Linked DNA regions of Homo sapiens: all the other regions are linked to region 3. Evidence: promoter capture Hi-C in 16 types of primary human blood cells and fetal thymus (Javierre and others, 2016). All regions are on one chromosome and are shown on one strand. The core of a region is centred on a gene start or on the middle of the fragment in contact, and the rest is flanking DNA. Distances in the headings are between cores, read along the strand shown.

Evidence for each region. Contacts are between HindIII fragments. The CHiCAGO score rates a contact against its expected background, and 5 or more counts as called.
Region 1: a fragment that was not itself captured here is called in contact with the fragment with the promoter of TOR1A in region 3 in 12 of 17 cell types (naive CD4 T cells, activated CD4 T cells, non-activated CD4 T cells and 9 more); the score reaches 13.3 in naive CD4 T cells.
Region 2: a contact is called between a fragment that was not itself captured here and the fragment with the promoter of TOR1A in region 3, in 2 of 17 cell types (endothelial precursors and activated CD4 T cells). The highest score is 5.8, in endothelial precursors.
Region 4: a contact is called between a fragment that was not itself captured here and the fragment with the promoter of TOR1A in region 3, in 3 of 17 cell types (activated CD4 T cells, endothelial precursors and megakaryocytes). The highest score is 5.7, in activated CD4 T cells.

What each region holds. Positions count from the first base shown.
Region 1 is chr9:130,095,232-130,098,677 of GRCh38, forward strand. All of the region lies in intron 9 of GPR107 (G protein-coupled receptor 107), which reads left to right. Among named protein-coding and RNA genes, the nearest start is that of GPR107, 43 kb to the left of the region's middle. The HindIII fragment of the contact is 8,854 bases long and covers 1-3,446 here.
Region 2 is chr9:130,244,812-130,248,042 of GRCh38, forward strand. No RefSeq gene overlaps it. Among named protein-coding and RNA genes, the nearest start is that of MIR12126, 5.0 kb to the left of the region's middle. The HindIII fragment of the contact is 685 bases long and covers 1,300-1,984 here.
Region 3 is chr9:129,822,755-129,826,058 of GRCh38, forward strand. TOR1A (torsin family 1 member A) reads right to left here and starts at 1,382. Exons shown (of 5, transcript NM_000113.3): 1 at 1,154-1,382; 2 at 1-92. The coding sequence starts at 1,331. RefSeq lists a silencer at 767-856 and an enhancer at 1,267-1,576. The HindIII fragment of the contact is 11,037 bases long and covers 1-3,304 here.
Region 4 is chr9:130,111,222-130,114,601 of GRCh38, forward strand. The region is part of intron 14 of GPR107 (G protein-coupled receptor 107); the gene reads left to right. Among named protein-coding and RNA genes, the nearest start is that of GPRACR, 31 kb to the right of the region's middle. The HindIII fragment of the contact is 3,979 bases long and covers 1-3,380 here.

The DNA of each region.
Region 1 (3,446 bases), core at 105-2,604, 270 kb after region 3:
ATGTGTATGAGAGGGCTTTGCAAATCAGGGCGCAATCCAAACATGAGGTGTTTATAAAATAGTTTAGTAGCCAGGGGTTCAGTGGTGTTTTAATTTTCCTTTAGTTATTGGTGGCAATAGTCATTGTCACTGGTTCACTTGTATCAAATTGTGGTAACAGTTTTCTTTATTTTATTTTTTTTGAGACAGAGTCTCGCTCTGTCGCCAGGCTGGAGTGCAGTGGTGCAATCTTGGCTCACTGCAACCTCTGCCTTCTGGGTTTGAGTGATTCTTCTGCCTCAGCCTCCCAAGTAGCTGGGACTACAGGCGTCCGCCACCATGCCTGGCTTATTTTTGTATTTTTAGTAGAGACGGGGTTTCACCATGTTGGCTGGGATGGTCTTGATCTCTTTACTTCGTGATCCACCTGCCTTGGCCTCCCATTGTGCTGGGATTACCAGCATGAGCCAGTGCACCCAGACCGTGATAACACAGTTTTCAATCTGTGGTTAAATGAGGCTGACCTATTGTGTACAAGTCTCATCTGTAATTTTTGTTGGAGTATAGTGTGCATGGGGGAAGGTCAGTTAAGTCCTGCCCATGTTTTCCCGGGAGTCTTAGAGTCAGTTCTGGTAGGCTGGAAACCCACATGATATAAAGGCATATGACCAAGGCCGCCAGGCGCATTTCACTGGCCCCTGAAAGCTGGAAACGACTAAGAGATCTTTGCCTCATTTATTGAGGCCCAGAGAGGGGAAACGAGAGCCAGTGTCACCCAACAGACCTGGGACTGGAACTCGGGTCTGCTTGCTAGTATGTATCAGGCCCCTCCCAACTTCAAGTGTAGGTAGAACTAGTATTTGAGCCGAGGTCAGTGAGTATTCTTTCCATCACATCTCTGCCCCATCGTAGATATTCTAACCATGGACTGCAAGTCAAGGTTGCCAGAGTGTGAATGAGCACAGCTCTTTGTGGTGGGTGGTTTTACACTCTGGGTAAATCTCATTGGCATTCAGTAGTTCCAGGCTATTCTGGCCTTGACTTCCCTTTTGACCTTCAAGTAGGTGGGCACTGGAACAGGAAAGTACCAGGGAGGAAATGAGCCCAGAAACTGATATCCCTTTGTGGTACACTCTCATTCTCACTTGGTGCCAGGCCCCTCTCCTGCTCTATTGTTCCCCTTCATTTCCTGTCCCCTCTCCCACTCCTTCCCAGTAGTGGAGAACTGCTCAAATGTGTTGCATATACATTTTTGGACTTTTTTTTTTTTTTTTTTGAGACCTCGTCTCACTCTGTGCCCCAGGCTGGAGTGCAGTGGTGCAATCTCAGCTCACTGCAACCTCCGCCTCCCGGGTCAAGCAATTCTCGTGCTTCAGCCTCCCGAGTAGCTGGGACTACAGGCGCCTGCCACCATGCCCGGCTAATTTTTGTATTTTTCGTAGAGACGGGGTTTCACTACGTTGGCCAGGCTGGTCTAGAATTCCTGACCTCAGGTGATCGGCCTCCCAAAGTGCTGGGATTACAGGCGTGAGCCACTGCGTCTGGCCTGATTTTTGGATATTTCTATATTCTTATAGATAAGTACTGTTTACTGGTGTTGCATTTATTTTAAGTTTACATAAAATATCTATAGACGTTGTTGTACATTTTTTACTCAGTATTATCCTTTCTGCGATCTAGCCATGTGGCTGAGTGTGCATCTCATTCATTGATTTTTACCTACTCCACAGCATCCCATGCTCTGTGTCCTCACGTTTGACTGCTTTGGTCCTTTAGTGATAGACACACGCCTGGACTGCCTACATCTCCCTGCTACCTCAGCCAGTGCTGGCATGTACCTCCAAAGATCCCCTGTGGATCTGTGCAGCCTCCGAGCTGCAGTCCCAGAAGGAAGCACACTGTGCCATGGGTAGTTAATTTCTTTTCTTTACTTTTCTTTTTTTTCTTTTTTTTTTTTTTTTTGAGACAGAGTCTCACTCTGTCACCCAAGCTGGAGTGCAGTGGCACCATCTTGGCTCATTGCAACCTCCACCTCCTGAGTGCAAGCGATTCTCCTGCCTCACCCTCCTGAGTAGCTGGGACTATAGGCATGTACGCCCATGCCGGGCTAATTTTTGTATTTTTAGTAGAGACGGGTTTTCACTGTGTTGGCCAAGCAGGTCTTGAACTCCTGGCCTCAAGAGATCCTCCCGCCTCGGCCTCCCAAAGTGCTGGGACTACAGGCATGAGCCACTGCGCCCAGCCATCAGTTAATTTCGTTAAGGGCCAGATTGCCTTCCAGTGTGGCATATAGGTTTATACGTCTACCAGTGGTGCATACATAATAAGGTTTGCTGTTTCTCCACATTCTTACCAATACTGACATCTTAATTTTTGCCAATCTGATAGGTGTAAAGTGGTATCTTGCTTTATTTTGCGTTTCTCTGAATATTGGTGATGTGGATTATCATTTTAGAGACTTAACCATTTCCCCTCTTGTGGCTGCCTGTATTCTTTGGGTTTTTTTTTTTTTTTTTGAGACAGGGTCTCACTAAGTTGTCCAGGCTGGAGCAGTGGCGTAATCAAGGCTTACAGCAGCCTCAAACTCCTGAGCTCAAGTGATCCTCCCACCTCAGCCTCCCGAATAGCTGAAACTATAGGGACGCACCACCACTCCTGGCTTAATTTTTGTTTGTTTTGAGACCGTTTTGAGACAGGGACTCGCTCTGTCACCCAGTCTGGAGTGCAATGGCACAGTCACGGCTCATTGCAGCCTTTGCCTCCTGGGCTCAAGTGATCCTCCCACATCAGCCTCCCAAGTAGCTGGGACTACAGGTGTGCACCGCCACACCCAGCTAACTTTTTGTATTTTTGGTAGAGATGGAGTTTTGTCATCTTGCCCAGGCTAATCCCAAACTCTTGGGCTTAAGTAATCTTCCCACCTCAGCCTCCCTAAGTGTGGGATTACAGGCATGAGCCACTGCACCTAGCCTCATAATAGTCTTAATATGTTCTATTAGGTTAATTCCTAAGGGGAGGTGGGAAGGAGTAGAGGAATTTAATGCCCGGCAGCCGAAAGGTGGACTAGTATCTGTGATGGGGTGGGCATGGGAATGGGTGCTTTGTCTCATTGGCCTGGGGTATTTGCAGACACCAGCCATGAAGGAGAGAGAAATGGGCATGACCCTGGCACTTTCTCCTCACACATCCCTACTGCTGGCTCCCAGTCCCCCTACTCTGGGCTGCAGACTTCCCCTACAGCTATTTGTAATCGCTTTCTGCTTTCCTAGGAGTTCTGTGCTGTTTTCTCAGGTCCATCTACCTCATTCTTGCCTCTGGCTTTCCCAGGGTGGTTTCCGGGAACAAGCTGGCAGCCTGTGTTAGATTTCCATTTACTCAAGAGTTGGAATCCATCATGTCTAGCTTTGGTGCATAACTCTCAGGTTCATTCACAACATTAAATTGTGTATTAGAGATTACTTTAGGAC
Region 2 (3,231 bases), core at 392-2,891, 420 kb after region 3:
TGGCCTCTCCCTGCCAGGGGCTCTCCCAGAAGTAAAGGAAGGTGATGAACCGGCCACTCCCATAAGCCCTGAGACCCCCGAGGCCTCGGCCCCATCCTCACCCTCCTAACCAGTCTTGCGACAGGGCTGGAGAAAGGGTTTCCCCCATAAGAGGGACTCTGATTGGCCAGTGGGGGACCTAGGGAGGCCTGGGATATGACGGGCAGGTGGGGCTGGAGAAAGCCGGCTCTCTTTGGTGCTCTTGGCTGGTTTTCAAATGTCTTGAAGCTACTGTGGTTGCCATACCCATCTGGCTGTAAATTAAATTTGGGGCGAAGGGACCTCTTGTCCCAAAGTTTCTCATCTCATCCAGCATGACTGGCAGTTAAGGTTCCTTCTCTGGGTTCCAGTGCTGGCTGCATCCCCACCAGCAGTTGGCTTTGGAGATAGACTGAATCTGAACTTCTCTGAGCTTCAGTTTCCTCCTCTTTAAAGTGAGGATAATAGAAGCACGTTTCTCATAGGGCTGCTGGGGAGCATCTGTGTGATGCTCAGATGATCTGTCTGAGGGCCTTTCCTACGTGAAAACAGTGAATGTCATTGATATTATCCAATTCTCTCCACCCCAAAGTTGTTGCCCCTTCATTTTGGTCCATCGATTTGGCTATCAGCTTTTATTTCTTGCCACTTGGGCCATGGGTGAAGCTGCACTCAAGATCTGGGTCCAAGTCCAAAATTTCAGAGAGGAAAATACCTTGAAACAGGAGCCTGTCATGAACTAGTCGATAGCAGAGGGAGGCTCCCCACTGCCAACATGACCTCTGCCCCACCAACCCCAAGGGGCCCCCCACAACCACCCAGGGAGCTATCTCTGGGGCACCTGGCCCGGGCGCAGTGGCGCACGCCTGTAATTCCTCCCTTGGGAGGCCGAGGCGCGTGGATCACTTGAGGTAAGGAGTTCGAGACCAGCCTGGCCAATATGGTGAAATCCTGTCACTATTAAAAATACAAAATTTAGCCAGAAATCTCTTAAACCTGGGAGGTGGAGGTTGCAGTGAGCTGAGATCGCACCGCTGTACTCCAGCCTGAGTGACAGAGTGAGACTTTATCTGAAAAAAAAAAAAAAAAAAAAATTGGTCTGGCCCTTGCCCCCGCTTTTTCTGGAGCCACGAGGACCCATATAGCCAGATAAATAGGAAAACTGGAGCCCCAGGGCCTGTGATGAGTTTACATCAAATAGAGCCCTGCTATATGCAATCACTGTCACTAGAATCACTACTTGGAAATTCCCCAGCTCAATCCCCAGCACAAAGTGGGCTAAGCTTTTGCTCAGTGCCAGAGAAAAACTGAGAGGTTAGAAAGATGCAGGTGACAGAGAAGGATGATAAAATGATGTTTCCCATCAAGTGAAATGAAAGGTTTTGCAATGTGTTCCTCTGTTTCCTTACAAGTAGGAACAGCCTCTCCAGGGAGCACCAGCTTGGAGGACACATAGCCACTCCCAGAGCCCCGGTCCCTGCTGTCCATAGGGGTAGCACGTCACCAGCACCATGTCCTGGCCTCTGAGTCAACAAGACCAGGCTGAGACCCAGTGGAAGCACCAGCTGGTGACTCTGAGCAGCTTCTTTTCCCTAATCTCTCTTTTTTTCTTTTCTTTTTTTTGAAACAGGGCCTTACTCTTTTATCCAGGCTGGAGTACAGTGGTGTGATCATAGCTCACTGCAGTCTCGAACTCTTGGCCTTAGGTGATCCTCCCATGTCAGCCTCCCAAGTAGCTGAGACTACAGTCACATGCCATCACACCCGGCCTGTTCCCTAATCCTTTGTGTATGTGTGTATTAAGTTGATAATTATAAAAAATAATATACTTTGCACCTTAATGCTATGAGTGAGTGCTCTTCAACTATGAAGAACAAGATTAAATTATATCCAACGGAATGAGCTTGAAATGTTTAACAAATCCATACCAAAAAACACAGAAGAAAAAGCCTTTTTATTCCAATGAAGCTTGGGTGTTACTTCCATGAATGTTCCTTCCAAAACACGTGTTTGAAATGTAATTGCCATTGTGACAGTATTACGAGCTGGTGCTTTAGGAAGTGGTTAGGCCATGACAGTTCTGCCCTCATGAGTGGGTTAATGCCTTGGTTGGGTACGGTGGCTTACACCTGTAATCCCAGCACTCCGGGAGGCTGAGGCAGACAGATCACTTGAAGTCAGGAGTTAGAGACCAGCCTGGCCAGCATGGTGAAACCCCGTCTCTACCAAAAAATACAAAAATTAGCCAGGTGTGGTAGCACATGCCTGTAATCCCAGCTACTCAGGAGGCTGAGGTGGGATAGTCACTTGAACCTGGGAGGCAGAGGTTGCAGTGAGCCGAGATCAAACCACTGCACTCCAGTCTGGGTGACAGAGTGAGACCCTGTCTCAAAAAAATTTTAAAAAGGCGGGCTTTGAGGAGTGGGTTCTTTCTTTCTCACGCTCACTTGCCCTTCCACCTTCTGCCATGGGATGACACACCATGAAGGCCCTTACAAGGTGCTGGCACCTTGATATTGAACTTCTCAGTCTCCAGAACTGTGAGAAATAAATTTCTTTTTTCTTTTCTTTTCTTTTCTTTTTTTTTTTTTTTTTGAGACGGAGTTTTGCTCTTGTTGCCCAGGCTGGAGTGCCATGGCACAATCTTGGTTCACCGCAACCTCCACTTCCCACGTTCAAGCGATTCTTTTGCCTCAGCCTCCCGAGTAGCTAAGATTACAGGTACGTGCCACCATGCCCGGCTAAATGTGTACTTTTAGTAGAGACAGGGTTTCACCATATTGGTCAGGTTGGTCTCAAACTCCTGACCTCAGGTGATCCACCTGCCTCAGCCTCCCAAAGTGTTGGGATTACAGGCGTTGAGTCACAATGCCAGGCCACATTATGAATTTTGATAAAGTCAGCTTCTCAAGTTTTCCTGTCATAGACTGTGCTTTTGGTGTCATGTGTAAGAACTCTCTGCCTATCCTCAGGTGGTGAATATTTGTTCTCCTGTGTTTCTTCTAAAAGTTTGAAAGTTTTGGCCAGGCGCGGTGGCTCATGCCTATAATCCCAGCACTTTGGGAGACTCAGGCGGGCGGATCACGAGGTCAGGAGATCGAGACCATCCTGGCTAACACGGTGAAACCCCGTCTCTACTAAAAACACAAAAAATTAGCCGGGCGTGATGGCGGGTGCCTGTAGTCCCAGCTACTCGGGAGGCTGAGGCAGGAG
Region 3 (3,304 bases), core at 132-2,631:
TGGGTTGTTTATGAAACCAAACACGGCATTTAAGATGATTTTCTTTGCAAGATGCTGTCCAAAGAGGTTGTCGTCCAGATCCTTCTGCAGTGCTGGGAAAGACAAAGCCAATCAGGAGTGGGGAAGAAACAGCGGCAAAATGTAGCCACATTTACAGCCCATAAGAAAGCCAGCAAAGCCGTCTAGACGCCCTCCAAGCACCTTGCGAAACCTCAAGTACTGCGGTCTGTAAGCTCCTGGCCCAGAGGGGACGGCGGTCCAGGGAGCCCTCCCTTTGCTGGTCCTGCCTATTCTAAAGCCCTGGCCCGACTCCTTCCCGAAAAGCCCCTTGGTGCCACTGCCACTGCCACCAGTTTGCACCCCTAACCCCTGTGCTGCTCCTCCCACCCCAAGGCAGAGCCGGGAAAGGAAACAGTTTGGTCCCTCCTGGTCGGCTGCGGAAGAGTCCTCACCATCCTTCCTGTCTCCCGCTAGGCTAGAAAGGAGGCAGAACCCACTTCGGAGGGAGGTTACCACTGGTCCACCCCCAGCTTAGCGCAAAGTAGGCCAACCTGCAGCCTGGCTCCTCAGGTCTCCGACTTAAGTCTGGCACGTCTGTGGTCATGGCCGAGGAGCCAGGCCTCATCCTGCAGGCCGGCCGCTTGGCTTCCGGGGTCCGGCCCCCGCGGACTCAGCTCTGCCCAGGCCCGGCCCTCCTGGGATGTGACCCCTACCCCGGCCTGGCCCTAGTGCCATCCCCCAGCCCCAGCCCCAGCCCCAGCCCCCGCTCCTGAGCCCCAGCCCCCAAACTCCGCTCCAGCCCCAGTCCTAGCCCGGCCCTACTGCCATCCCCCAGCCTCCATCCACCATCCTCAATCCCCTAGCCCCAGCCAACCGCCCTGGTCTTAACCCAGCCCTAGTGCGATCCCCCAGCCCCACCCCCAGCCCCCGGGCCCCGCTCCATCCCCCAGCCCCAGCCCCAGCCCCAACCCGGCCCTAGTGCCATCGCCCAGCCCCAGCCCCCAGGCCCCGCTCCAGCCCTAGTCCTAGCCCGGCCCTGGTGCCATCCCCCGGCCTCCATCCTCCATTCTCCATGCCCTGGTCCTAGTTCAGCCCTAGTGCCATCGCCCAGCCCCAGCCCCAGCCCCAGCCTCCAGCCCCCGCCCCAGCCTACCCTCCCGGCTAAGGCTCCGCTTCTGCCCGCAGCACTCGGCGAAGAGGCAGTAGAGACGCGGGTAGATGTAGCCGGTGAGGACGCCGGCCAGGGCCAGTCCCAGGCTGATGGGCTCCACCGCCTGCACCACGGACGGCGCCAGCAGCAGCAGGCCCAGCACGGCCCGGCCCAGCTTCATGCCCGGACCCGCGCCACCCTGCTTGTTCTCGCGCCGACCGCGAACCGGTGCAGCCGCCAGACCCACGCTTCCGGTTCCTCCTCTCGCGGAGGCCATCTTTCTTCAGGGCAGCCCTCCTCCCGACGCCGGCGGCCGCCATCTTTGTTCGGTACAAAGCCCTGTTTTGCTTCCGGAAACTCGGTTCTGCTCCGCCCCTGTTGGCCACGTGTTTTTGTTTATGGACGTTATTTTTGCCAGGCATGGTGGCTCCTGCCTGTAATCCCAGCCCTTTGGGAGGCTGAGGCGGGCGGATCACCTGAGGTCAGGAGTTCGAGACCAGCCTGACCAACATGGTGAAACCACGTCTCTACTAAAAATATAAAATTAGCCGGGTGTGGTGGTAGGCACCTGTAGCCCTAGCTACTGGGGAGGCTGACACATGAGAATCGCTTGAACCCAGGAGGCGGAGATTGCAGTGAGCCGAGATCTCACCACTGCACTCCAGCCTGGGAGACAGAGCAAGACTGTGTCCCCTCCCCGCAAATAATAATAATAATAATAATAATAATAACGGACGTTATTTTTTAGAACAGATTTACAGAAAAATTGAGAAGATAGTAGAGAGTTCCCATGTGCCACCCATCCCTGCAATTTCCCCTATTACTAAAATCTTACATTATTAGTGTGCTACATTTGTTAAAATTAACGATGCACTGTTGTCATATTAACTAAAGTGTAGTTTATTCAGATTTCCTTCCTTTTACTTAATGCCTTTTTCTGCTGCAGGTTTCCATTCAGGATACCACATTATATTTCGTTGTCATGTCTTAGACTACTGTTAATGACAGTGTCTCAGCCTTTTATTTTTATTTTAGCTGGAGTGCAGTGGCATGATCTCAGCTCACTGCAACCTCTGCCTCCCAGGTTCAAGCGATTCTCCTGTCTCAGCCTCCTGAGCAGCTGGGATTACAGGCACACACCACCATGCCCGGCTAATTTTTGTATTTTTGGTAGAGACGGGGTTTCACCATGTTGGCCAGGATGGTCTTGATCTGACCTCATGATCTGCCCGTCTCAGCCTCCCAAAGTGCTGGGATTACAGGCGTGAGCCACCGCGCCTGGCCTCAGCTTTTTATTTTTGATGACCTTGATAGTTTTGAGGAGTACTGGCCAAATCTTTGGTGGGCTGGCCCTCTATTGGGATTTGATGTTTTTCTCAGGATTAGACAAGCGTTATGGCGTTTTGGAAGGAAGATCACAGAGGTAAAGTGCTATGCTCATCACATCCTACCAAGGAAGGGTTCTTACTGTTCAACGTTACTTACCACTGTTGGTGCTGACTTGATCACTTGACTGAAGTAGTGTTTGTCAGGTCCCCCCACCCCTCTTTTCTCTACTGTACTCTTTGGAAGGACGTCCCCATGCACAGCCCACACGTAAGGAGTCGGGGATTTTGCTCCACCTCCTTGGGGGCAGAGTATCTACAGAAATTATTTGGAATTCTGCATGGGAGATTTGTTTCTTCTCCCCCATGTATTCAATCATTTATATCAGTGTGGACCATTGTTATTTTATCCTTTGTTATACTACAGTACTAATTTTTTTTTCAAATTGTTCTCATTTTGGCCACTGGGAATTTGAGTGGTTCCTTGTGCTCCTTTGACATACACCCAGTGTATATACCAGCTTATTTGGGTTTGAGTGCCTCTTTCCTTTCTGACACTACAGGATACTCCGGGCTCATCTTGTATTTCCTGCCCCAGTCCTAGAATCCTATTTTCTACGAGGAACCCTGATTCCTTTCATTGTAAAATGGCATTAGAAACTGGCTGGGCATGGTGGCTCATGCCTGTAATCCAGCATTTTGGGAGGCTGAGGCAGGTGCATCACCTGAGGTCAGGAGTTTGGGACCAGCCTGACCAATATGGTGAAACCCCATCTCTACTGAAAATACAAAAAAATTAGCTAGGCATGGTTGCGTGTGCCTGTAGTCT
Region 4 (3,380 bases), core at 434-2,933, 290 kb after region 3:
TTGGGAGGCCGAGGCAGGAGGATTGCTTGAGGCCAGGAGTTTTAGACCAGCCTGGGTGACATAATAGCAAGATCCCATCTCTACCAAAACCACACAAAAAACTGTGGCAGACCAGCCTGGGCAACATGGCAAAACCCCACCTCTAGAAAAAGATACAAAAATTATCGGGGCTTGATGGCACACGCCTGTAGTCCCAGCTACTTGGGAGGGTGAGGTGAGAAGATCACTTGAGCCCAGGAGATCAAGGCTACAGTGAGCTGAGATTGTACCACTGTACTCCAGCTTGGGCAACAGAGCCAGACCCTATCTCAAAACAACAACAACAACAAAACACTATGGCAAAGAATCTCATTTTTAGTTTAGGTGCAGTCCAGGCCCAGTAACTGCAAGTGAGAGACATGCCATTTGTAGTTTTCCTTCCTGCATTGGGGTGAATACAGCTTTCCGTTTTGGGGTGAATACAGCTTTCAGTTTTGGGGTGAATACAGTTTTCAGTTTTGGGGTGAATACAGCTTTCAGAGAGTGTTTGTTTGGCTTTTACTTTGTTGTCTCTGGATTCCTTTTGACCAAACCTGAGGGAAATCTAAAGGAAAGCATTGAGGCCGAAGCTGCCCACTGTCCTTTAGCCGCGTCTTTGTCTCTCCTGTCACGCGCAGTGGCTTCTCTCAGGTCCTCGGTCACTGAGACTCACAGCTGCACTGCATCCTCCGAGAGGGAGCTTAATTGAGTCTCGCACAGACACACCTAGCGCTGGCTCCACTCTGTCTCGCCTGCTAAGATTTACTGGCTCTGACTGCCCTTGAGCCCGCATCCGCGTTCCCTTCTCTTTCTCCAGTGTCATTACCTTATAGGACTGGCGTCGAGATACACACCGTAAATTTAATTAACAGTCTCTGCTGCTCACCATCCTTTTTTTGGGCCTTGTGTTTCTGAGGAAAAGTCAGAAGATGTATTCTGAAGAGCCTTAGCTTTCATGTGAGCTTCAGAAGTATTTAAACAATCCCGGTTGGCTGGCTGCAGAGTTGATGGAGGAACGGCTTCATTCCGAGGTGCCGCCGTGCTCTGAAAGGAGCCGCGACCATGCGAGGCATTTGTTAGGGCAGCGGTTCTCAAGGGGGTCCTCGGGATCAAAACTATTTTCATAATCATACGGTGTGAGTCTCTTGTGCTGTTGACATTTGCCTGATGGTGAAAAGCAATGATGGGTGAAATTGCCGGCACCGTCACGTGATTCCAGGCTGTGGTACCAGAATCTGCCAGTAGCCACTGCATTCTTTACTGTCACCTACTCACAGGGGGTGAAAAAGGCTCATATCACTTAAGAATGGTCTTGAAATAATAAAACTGTTGATGTGATTAAATCTCAACCCTTGCCTTTTAATATTCTGTGAGACAGCATGGGAGGTGTGCACACAGCACTGCTGCTGGGCCTGAAGTGTGATGGGTGTGGCCTTGAGGGAAAGTACGTGTGCACTTGTTTGAATTGCAAGCTGAACTAGCTGCTTTTATTTTATTTTTTTGTTGTTTTTTATTTATTTATTTTTTTGAGACAGGGTCTTGCACTGTTGCCCAGGCTGGAGTCCAGTGGTGTAATCTTGGCTTACTGCAGCCTCAACCTCCTGGGCCCAACCGATCCTCTCACCTCAGCCCTCAAAGTAGCTAGGACTACAGGCGTGTGCTGCTATGCCTGGCTAATTTTTGTATTTTTTGTAGAGATAGGATTTTGTCATATTGCCCAGGCTAGTCTCAAACTCCTGAGCTCAAGTGATCCACCCACCTAGGCCTCCCAGAGTACTGAGATAACAGGCATGAGCCACTGTGCCTGGCCAAGCTGCTTTTATCTGGAAGAATGACTGTTATGGTGACACAGACATGGGTTTGTGGTGGACATTTTCTTGAAAATGAACAAAGTGAACATATTACTTCAACAAAAACAACTAATAGTATTTGTTGCCAGTGATAAAAGAAAACTTGTGTTTATCCCTGTCAGCCTGACAGTTTCCTAACTGACAGTTTCCCAGATCTTTTTTTTTTTTTTTTTTTTTCCTTGAGTCAGGCTGGAGTGCAATGGCACAATCTCAGCTCACTGCAGCCTTGACCTCCTGGGCTCAAGTGAGCCTCCCACTGCAGCCTCCTGAGTAGGTGGGACTACAGGTCTTTCCACCATGCCCGGCTAATTCTTATATTTTTTGTAGAGACGGGGTCTCAATTTGTTGCCCAAGCTGGTCTCAAACTCTGACCTCAAGTGATCCACCCACCTCGGCCTCCCAAAGTGCTGGGATTATAGGTGTGAGCCACCACACCCGGCCAGTTTCCCAGTTCTTATAAGACTTATGATGTAAGCAGAGGTGATACTAACAATGTGATTTTTTTAAGAATTCTATAATAAAATGTTTCTGTATCTGGGAGATCTACATAACACACTGAAACATTGTCTTCCACCTGGCCAGTGCAGGATGTTCCATAGTCATGCATGGGGGTAAAAGCTCTCCTGAAAGTGCAGGATGGACCAGTGGAGTTTATTAATGTAAGAGTGTGGAAAGTTCATTGATAAATTTCAGATTCCCCACCTCCCTCATCTTTAGAAGCAACCTCTTGTCAGGTTTTAATGTAGAATCACAGACTATTCACAGTAATCTGAAAAGGCCTACATCTATCTGTATGGGGCCAGATTTTCTTCATATATTTTCACCAAATACTCCCTCACAGCAAGTTGAATGCTGATTGAATCAAATATGAGAACCCAGCTGCATGTTATTAAGCTAGACATTAAAGAGAATTACAAAAATAATTCTGGTCTTCTCATTCTTTTTTTTTTTTTTTTTTTTCATTTTTTTTTTTTAGAAAAGAGGTTTTTTATTTTGGGGCCAGGCACAGTGGCTTATGCCTGTAATCCCAGCACTTTGGGAGGCGGAGGCAAACGGATCAGTTGAGGTCAGGAGTTCGAGACCAGCCTGGCCAACATGGTAAAACCCTGTCTCTACTAAAAATACAAAAATTAGCTGAGCGTGGTAGCGCACACCTGTAATCCCAGCTACTCGAGAAGCTGAGGTAGAAGGATTGCTTGAACCCGGGAGGCGGAGTTTGCAGTGAATTGAGATTGTGCCACTGCACTCCAGCCTGGGCCGCAGAGTAAGACTCCGTCTCGAAAAAATATATACATATATTATTAATTAATTTTAGAGACAGGGTCCTGTGTCACGCAGGCTGGAGTGCAGTGGTGTGATCATAGTTCATTGTAACCTCAAACTCCTAGGCTCATGTGATCGTCTCATCTTAGTCTCCCAAGTAGCTGGAATTACAGGCATGCACTACCATGCCTCACTAATTTTTAAAATTTTTTTTGTGGAGATAGAGTCTCACCATTTTGCCCAGGCTGA